Linked DNA regions of Homo sapiens: regions 2 and 3 are each linked to region 1. The links are contacts of gene promoters, found by promoter capture Hi-C in blood cells and fetal thymus (Javierre and others, 2016). All regions are on one chromosome and are shown on one strand. Each heading gives the region's core, a stretch centred on a gene start or on the middle of the fragment in contact. The rest is flanking DNA. Distances are from core to core; before and after follow the strand shown. Region 1 holds the start of BCAR1 (BCAR1 scaffold protein, Cas family member). Region 2 holds the start of TMEM231 (transmembrane protein 231). Region 3 overlaps GABARAPL2 (GABA type A receptor associated protein like 2).

What was found. The method cuts DNA at HindIII sites, captures the fragments that hold promoters and counts their contacts. A CHiCAGO score of 5 or more calls a contact.
Region 2: a fragment that was not itself captured here is called in contact with the fragment with the promoter of BCAR1 in region 1 in 1 of 17 cell types (M2 macrophages); the score reaches 6.2 in M2 macrophages.
Region 3: a fragment that was not itself captured here is called in contact with the fragment with the promoter of BCAR1 in region 1 in 1 of 17 cell types (M2 macrophages); the score reaches 5.3 in M2 macrophages.

What each region holds. Positions count from the first base shown.
Region 1 is chr16:75,250,245-75,252,944 of GRCh38, forward strand. It overlaps BCAR1 (BCAR1 scaffold protein, Cas family member), which reads right to left and starts at 1,380. Exons shown (of 7, transcript NM_014567.5): 1 at 1,227-1,380. The coding sequence starts at 1,238. RefSeq lists silencers at 1,263-1,422, 1,483-1,592 and enhancers at 1,592-2,132, 2,673-2,700. The HindIII fragment of the contact is 27,287 bases long and covers 1-2,700 here.
Region 2 is chr16:75,556,072-75,559,112 of GRCh38, forward strand. TMEM231 (transmembrane protein 231) reads right to left here and starts at 181. Exons shown (of 7, transcript NM_001077418.3): 1 at 1-181. The coding sequence starts at 138. RefSeq lists a silencer at 242-351 and enhancers at 392-471, 502-611. The HindIII fragment of the contact is 1,045 bases long and covers 971-2,015 here.
Region 3 is chr16:75,573,693-75,576,392 of GRCh38, forward strand. The region is part of intron 3 of GABARAPL2 (GABA type A receptor associated protein like 2); the gene reads left to right. Among named protein-coding and RNA genes, the nearest start is that of GABARAPL2, 8.7 kb to the left of the region's middle. The HindIII fragment of the contact is 2,423 bases long and covers 114-2,536 here.

The sequences.
Region 1 (2,700 bases), core at 130-2,629:
GTGTCAGCAGCTCCTCCCCAAAGCTCTTTTCCCCACAGCCCCGCCACCCCCGTACCTGGGCCCCGATTCTCCAGGCACCCCGACACCTGCTCTCACAGGCCGGCCAGCCCCCACCACCCAACTCTCCACCGAGGGAAAGGAATGGGCACAAGAGGGGGCGTGTCCCGGCCCAGGGCGATGGGAAACATCTCACTAGCAAAGAAGAGATCAACCCATGGTCATTCTGAGAAGGTGACCAAAGCTGCGGCGGGCCCCGGGAGGGGTGTGGGAAAGGAAACCAGGGACTCTCAGGAGGGAACGGGAGCCTTGTGGTAGAAAAGGAGCTGCTGTCCCCGATCTGGAACTCGAAACCCCAACATCTTCCAGGCCGTAAGCCCCTCACCCCGCACCCCTAGGCAAATCTCCGCTTTCCCAACTCCCTCACCTCGGTCCAGCGATCAGCCTCTCGGACCCTCGAGAGGGAGCTCCGACCCTGCTCTAGCTCTTGCGGGTCCCCCAACCATGGACTCCAAAGCCTTCATGTCCACACTGCAGAACCCGGCCCTGGCCCCCTCCCGCGACACTCGCGTGCGGCTAGGACTCCTGTGGCCAGGACCCGGCTTCCACCGGCGCTCGGCGTGCGGGGCTGCAAAGCCCGCGGCGCGCCCGCCCCCACTCCCGCTCCGCTCCCGGAACCCCGCGCCGGCGGCCGGAGTGAATCATTAACTGGAGCCGGGTGCTCCGGCTGCGCAGCCTTCCCCGCTGGCGCCACGCACTTGCCCGCCCGGCCTCGGTCCCCCGGAGCTCCTCCCTCTCCGGGAGCCGGTGGGCAGTCCCCACGCCACACCAGCCGGACCACCCGCCAGAGGCTCAACGGCCCCTCCTCGCAGCCGAGGAAACTGAGGCTCGGAGGCAGGGCGCAGAGGCCCAAGGTGACACAGCAGGCGGCCGTCGGCCGGGGAGCGCGGGCCCCGCCAGCCACTTTCCCGACACAGGAACCCTCCTACCGGCTGGCGGCCCCCGCGCCCGGCCCCGCCAACGCACCCGAGGCGCACAGGCTCCGGAGCCCCCGCGGTTCCTGCCTCCCGGCTTCCCGGCCAGGGCAGAAGGAGATCCCAGGGCCGCGGACCCCGGCCGGCGGTTCCCAGGCCCCGCAGGTCCGGCAGGAAATGCCGCTCGCTTAACCCCTTCCAGCCCGCTGCCGCCTCCAAGCCCGTACGCGGCCCGGCCCCACCTGGCGCCCTCACCAGGTGGTTCATGGTGTCCGGCGGGCCTGGGGCCCCGGCTCTCGCGGGGGCGCACACCGAGCTGCCCGGGCCGCGTGCCCTCGGGGCTCCGAGCGCGCCGCAGCCGCCCCGGTGCCGCCGCGCAGCTGCCGCCTCGGCCACCCAGAGCCGGTCCAGCCGCTCTCCGCCTGCCGCCACGGCCCAGCCGGCCCAGCCCGATCCCAGCATGCCCGGCCGCGCGCGCCCATTGGCCGCCGCCGCTCTCCATGCAAATAAGCCGCCTGTCGGGGGCGCGGGCGCGCAGACAGAAGCCCGCCCAGTAGGGGCCGCCCCCCGCCCCGCCCCCCACCTCCAACCCCGAGGCTCCAGGCCCCTGCCCGAGGCCAGGCTTCCAGCCTAGGGCGCAGGACACCGCTCTCCAACAAATGCACGTCCCCGCCTTCCACCCAGGCGAGAACGCACCGAAGGCCTACGCAAACTCCTCCACTTCTGGGAAGGCTGCCCGGTTTGCCTTCTTCCTCCAGAGCCGAGACATGGCCTCAAGTCGACTTGTCTTTCCCGCTAACCAACCCCAGGGCATTCATCGCGTGTCCATGGGCCGTGGGACTCAAATCTGAATCTAGAGGGAAAGGGGAGGGGGCGTGCCCCAGCCTGTAGGAGACGAATCATCACCACCACAGCTCCGACTGTAGACGGTCCCACCGTGTAAGGACCCCAGGAAATGAAGCCTCAAGCAGGGAGGCTGGCGAGCTCTCGACCCAGCGCTTTTCACGGGCAGCACCTACCTTCCCCTGCATTGTGCCGACATCTGGGGACTCGGGCTGGTCCTCCAGCTGATCTGCCTCCTCTCATTACTCATTCCTAGGTTCAGCCTAAAACCTGGGCCTAGTACCCTCCTGAGTCCTGCTCCAACTCATCTGCTTCAGCGACATGGGGTAGGAGAGCGGCACTGGGGGAATGAGGGAGATAGAAGGAAGAATCACTCGGGGGAAACCGAGTGGAGACAACCTTGGCTCTCCTGAGTTGCCCCTTGCTCGGTTGCAGGTCAGTGACTGTCACCCCATGCAGCAGAACCAGGGTGCCAGAGCCCCTGGGCCAGGCCAGGGAGGCACAATCTGCAGGGAGATGATAGGACCGAGCCTGGTCCAGACCAGACAGGACCCTCAGTCAACAATCCTGGGCCACTGGCTGAGCAATGGGATGCCACGAGGCAGCCCTGGTGGCAGGGAAGCAGCGGGGTAGACCCGGCTTCACGCAGCAGAGAATTCTCAAGCATGGCCTATGGAAGACACAAGCCCAGGTGGGCCTGCAGCTGCCCCTCTGTCTGACCCCCAGGGCTCAGCCTACGCAGCGCCTGGCCAGATGTGCCACCTTGGCAGGCCCTCTCCCCTCTCTGGGCTCCTTTCTCATCTGAAAAGGGGCTAGGACAGCCCATGATTTGCTGCTCAGGTGCTCTGGGGAGCTAGTTAAAAAACAGACTCCTGTGTCCCACCCC
Region 2 (3,041 bases), core at 243-2,742, 310 kb after region 1:
GTGGCTCCGGAAGGCCACCAGCAGCGGCGGGATGTACGTGAGCGCAGCGGCCAGCAGCAGGAACAGCGCGGCTTTGGAGCAGAGCCCCGCGCGGTAACTGCGCTCGACCGGGTGAGAGAAGAGCTCATAGAGCGCCATGAGCACCGCTCGCAGGCACTCCGCGAGCCGGGGGACCAAGTTTGGCTTCTCCTGGTTGCCATCGCCTCGGTCTCCACGGCAACCGACGGCTCACAGAAAGGAGCCAATAGCAAGGCCGCACCGAAAGGAGCCAGTGGCGGGGGCGGGGTTAGCGGGCGTGGCGCTGCCGGGGACGGTCGGCCTAGCTTTTCGAGCTGTGTACGTTTGCGTAAAGGCTGGGCGGCGATAGAACGTTTCCGTGGACCAGAGTCGTGGCTGTTGTCTGTGTTAACATTTGTGTAAAATAAGATGCCCATAAAAGTTGACTTGAACACTGAGGAGGAAGAACTAAATATTTAAATTTCAACTGACATGGACACAAACAATGGTCACCAAGTCCCTAAACAGGTTGTGGGAGCCCCTTGAGGCGTTCATCCAGCGCTGTTTCGGAGAAATCTCTATTTCAGTCTACTCCTATACGTCAGTTATTGAAAAACAACAATCGCAAAAACAAGTTGACCTTTTTGTGTTCCTTGAGCCCAGTCGCAAAGGGCCCTCGTGACTGGGCCTCATGCTAGACAACATGTTACAAAAAGATCTAGGGTCCCAGACCACGCCAAAAAGCTTCATGAGACCTCTCCTCGTCTGTGCACTGACGAGTGGCCGGCTCTGGAGCCCAGGTCGTTGCTTCCCAGTCTGGAGGTGAATCCTCCATAGTCTGGTGAGTGTAAATATATATATATATATGTCTTTTTCCTTCTCCTCTTCCCATTGCAATTTGCTTATTATATCAATCTGCTTATTATATTAATTTGCTTATTATAATATCTGCATTGCCATTTACGTGGGATAAAGCTTGCTTACCCTTAAAGGTACTGTGTGTGTGCCTTTTCTTCTCCCCTAGCGCGTCTCCCGCACAGAACGAACACCTGCTTTTGTGTCATCTGTTAACCCCCAGTGTGGTTCCTACTGAAGTCCAGTCAGTCACAAGCCTGGCCGTGGTCCTGGACCTGGTCCTGGGCTGAGATCAAAGCCAGGTGCTTTTGCCCCCAGATTTTCTGTTGCTTCCACTATGCTCCCATGCAAGACAGACACGGAAACACAAATCCCCTGGCTCTTCCACGGATAGAGTGGAATTACTACAAAGCTCTGATGCACTTCGTTAACCCTGTGTTGGGTACAGCTCAGCCGCGAGTTTTACAGGAATATATGGTCCTCCCCAAAGATCACTGGCTTATTGCTTAATTGAATGCCTACACCCCCCCGCCACCACCCCCAACCAATATTTCTAACATGGTAGAAGGACTTTTTAAAAAAATCTATGGTCCACAGCCAATTTCTTCATCAAATGGCCCTGAATGGCTGGGCACGGTGGCTCACGCCTGTAATCCCAACACTTTGGGAGGCCAAGGTGGGCGGATCACCTGAGGTCAGGGGTTCAAGACCAGCCTGGCCAACATGGTGAACCCTCATCTCTACTAAAAATACAAAAATTAGCCAGGCATGGTGATGGGCACCTGTAATCCCAGCTACTCTGGAGGCTGAGGCAGGAGAATCGCTTGAACCCGGGAGGCACAGATTACAGTGAGCGGAGATCACACATTGGACTCCAGCCTGGGTGGCAGCGAGACTCCATCTCAAACAACAACAACAACAACAAAAAGGTCCTGAGTGGCTGAGCACAGTGGCTCATGCCTGTAGGTCCAGCTACTCGGGAGGCCTGGGCAGGAGGAAGGCTTGAGCCCAGGAGGCTGCAGTGAGCCATGAATGCACTACTGCACTCCAGGCTGGGAGACAGAAGGAGACCTTGTCTCTAAAAAAATAAATACAAAATATTTAAATATAAGTAAATTTGTTAAAGGGTCAGTAAAATGACATTTAAGTGGAAAGACATGATAAGCTTTGTGATTTGGAAAAGTCACTCTAATGACAGCATGTCAGTAGTGTAAACCAAAATGTATCTGAGACAAGTCTCAATCAACGTAGAAATTTATTTTGCCAAGGTTAAGGACATGCCTGTGACACAGCCTCAGGAGGTCCTGATGACATACGCCCAAGGTGGATAGGGTATAACTTGAGTTTATACATTTAGGGAGACATAAGACATCAATCAATACGTGTAAGATGTACATTGGTTCAGTACTGAAAGATGAGACAAGTGGAGGTGGGGTGGGGCTTCCAGACCACAGAATTGGCAGATTCAGAGATTTTTCCAATTGTCAACTGGTTATTATCTAAAGACCTGGAATCAATAGAAAGGAATGTGTGGGTTTGTGGGCGGGGCACAGTGGCTCACGCCTGTAATCCCAACACTTTGGGAGGCCAAGGCAGGCAGATCACTTGAGGTCAGGAGTTCAAGACCAGCCTGGCCAACATGGTGAAACCCTGTCTCTACCAAAAATATGTATTAAAAAAAAAAACATTAGCTGCATCTGGCGGTGTCCACCTGTAATCCCAGCTACTTGGGAGGCTGAGGCAGGAGAATTGCTTTAACCCGGGAGGCAGCAGCTGCAGTGAGCCGAGATCATACCACTGCACTTCAGCCTGGGTGACAAAGTGAGACTCCATTTCAAAAAAAAAACAAAAACAAAAAACAATAAGGGGTTGTGGAGTCTAATGTTTTATCATGCAGATGAAGCCTCCAGGCTTCAGAGAGAACAGATTGTAAATGTTTCTTATCAGACTTTAAGAGTCTGTTCTATTAATATCAGTCTTAAGATCTATGTGTTGATGCTAATACTGGTCAGCTGGGTCTGAATTCCAAAAAGAGGAGGGTATAATGAGTTACGTCTGACTCCCCACTTCCCATGATGGCCAGACTAGTTTTTCAGGTTAACTTTGGAATGCCCTTGGCTGAGACAAGGGTTCCATTCAGATGGTTGGGAGCTTAGAATTTTATTTTAGGTTTACAGTATACCAGGATG
Region 3 (2,700 bases), core at 75-2,574, 320 kb after region 1:
CCAACATTTGTATGAGAAGCACTGTTCTAAGGAAGATCTCTGCAGAAGGTACAAGGACTCTAATGTTAGGTCATCAGAGCAGATCTAGCTGTCTAATCACTTGGAGGCAGCAAAGCTTGGTGGTCTCCTAGTTTTGTGACCTGGAGTGAATTTAGAATCTCTGTGCCTCAGTTTTCCTATCTAGGAACTATGGATTATGGTACCATCTACCTCATGAGATTGTTTTGAGGATAAAGAGTTAATACATGTAATGTATAAGCAGTGCTTGGCACATGTGTTGCCATTATAGTTAGGATTTTTACTATCAGCTTCTGTAGCTACTAGGGCACTGCTTAAACAAATTAATGAACCCAAGTTTTACTTAAAAGACAATGGAATCTAAAGCCAGAAAGGAATGAAAGCCACATGATTGTGGGCCTCCTGTCCTGCCAAGAGTCAGGGCTCAGAGTCTCACGACCTGCCTTCAACAGTAGCGGTCCAGTGGTTATTGTTCACCCTGGATAGCATACACAGGCCCGGGGGTGGGCTGCTGGTGTTTACGAAGCTCTTCAAATGTTTCTAATGTAGCAGCGGGATTTAGAATCATTGTACTAGGGCTTCTAACTTGCTAGGAAAAGAGCAGAACTTAGTCTGTTTGGAACCAAACTTGACAGAGACACTATGGGGCGACTCTGAATTGCACACAATGTCTGCTACTGCATCTAAACCCATCTGGTAGTGGCAGCGGGGAGATGTTACGACAGTTGTCATCAAGATCACCCTGGACACTTGGACAAATGGGGTAAAGAGTTGTGGCAGTAGCTGTAGTTGTTTTCCCATTAGCCTCATTCTGAGGAGTTTCAGAGAAAAATGGGGTTACTCTCTGGGCATTCTCAACCACCAGGGTAAAAATCTTGGGAGACTCAGCTACATGTTCAAGCCCTTCTGCTAGTTTCTGGCTTGTCATTTCACTTCCTGGCTTGTCACTCTACTTCCTAATCACATAGCTTTTAAAGATGACCCTCCCTTCTCCCCCCCAACAAAAGGTCAGGCATTTCCCTTTGCAACCTGGCTGCATATGGAATCATTTTTGGCATTTAAAAATATACTGATGAGGCCGGACACGGTGGCTCACCTGAGGTCAGGAGTTCAAGACCAGCCTGGCCAACATGGTGAAATCCCACCTCTACTAAAAACAAAAACAAAAACAAATTAGCCAGGCGTGGTGGCATGCACCTGTAATCCCAGCTACTTGGGAGGCTAAGACATGAGACTTGTTTGAACCGGAAGGTGGAGGTTGCAGTGAACCGAGATCCTGCTACTGTACTCCAGCCCAAGCGACAGAGCAAGACTCTGTCTTTACAAAACAAAACAAAACATAGTGATGATTTCATTGGTCTGGGGTAGGGCTTGGGCACAGAGATGTTTTTAAAGCTCTCTTTAAAGTAAGATTCTGATGTGCAGCCAAGGCTGAGACCCACGGCTGCAGGCGTTGTTCCTCCCTCTACCCACTGCCCCCTAAGTCTTGTTCTGGGGCAGTGCTGTCAGTAGAAATGGATGCAAGCCACATATGTAATTTAAGAATTTTCTAGTAGCCACATTAAAAAAATAAAAACAGTTGAAATTAATTTTTTTTTTTTTGAGACAGAGTTTTGCTCTTGTTGCCCAGGCTGCAGTACAATGGCACGATCTTGGCTCACTGCAACCTCCACCTCCCAGGTTAAAGCGATTCTCCGGCCTCAGCTTCCCGAGTAGCTGGGATGACAGGCGTGCACTACCATGCCTGGATACTTTTTTTGACAGAGTCTCGCTCTGTCGCCCAGGCTGGAGTGCAGTGGCACGATCTCGGCTCACTGCAAGCTCCGCCTCCCAGGCTCACGCCATTCTCCTGCCTCAGCCTCCTGAATAGCTGGGACCACAGGTGCCCGCCACCACGCCCAGCTAATTTTTTGTATTTTTTAGTAGAGACGGGGTTTCACCGTTGTTAGCCAGGATGGTCTCAATCTCCTGACCTTGTGATCCACCCGCCTCGGCCTCCCAAACTGCTGGGATTACAGGTGTGAGCCACCGCGCCCGGCTTACTTTTGTATTTTTAGTAGAGACAGGGTTTCACTATGTTGGTCAGGCTGGTCTTGAACTCCCGACCTCAGGTGATCCACTTAATATATTTTATTTGACCCAGTATATCCATAATTTTATCATTTCAACATGTAATCAAAATTGAGCTATTTTGCTGCATTTTCATACTAAGTCTGAAGCCTTGTTTATGTTTTACACTGCACATCCCAATTCACACGAGCCAGACTTTCAAGTGCTGAATGTAGCTAGTGGCTGCTGTGGCAGTGATACAGGACATTTCAATCAGAGCAGAGATTTCTATTGAACAGTTCTGTTCCAGGGAGTCCTTATTTTACAAATTCCAGGCTAAGAGGTCCTCACAGGGAGCACCGTTTTTATTGTACAAGATGCTGATGACAGGTTCTTTCATATTCAAATTCAGACCTCCCCCACATTGTTACTTAATAATTCTCATCTACCCACACAGCCATCCGAGCTAAGCTTGCAAATGGGGCAGGAAGAACAGGAAAAAAACTCAAAACCTCCCCCTTCATAAATGTGGTATTTGTCCATGTTTACATGGAGGTTCCACTCAGCCCTTGAGGAGCAAAGCAGCAAGTGGGGCAGTCACTGTTTCCTCAGGTTGAGGCCTTGGACTCCTTA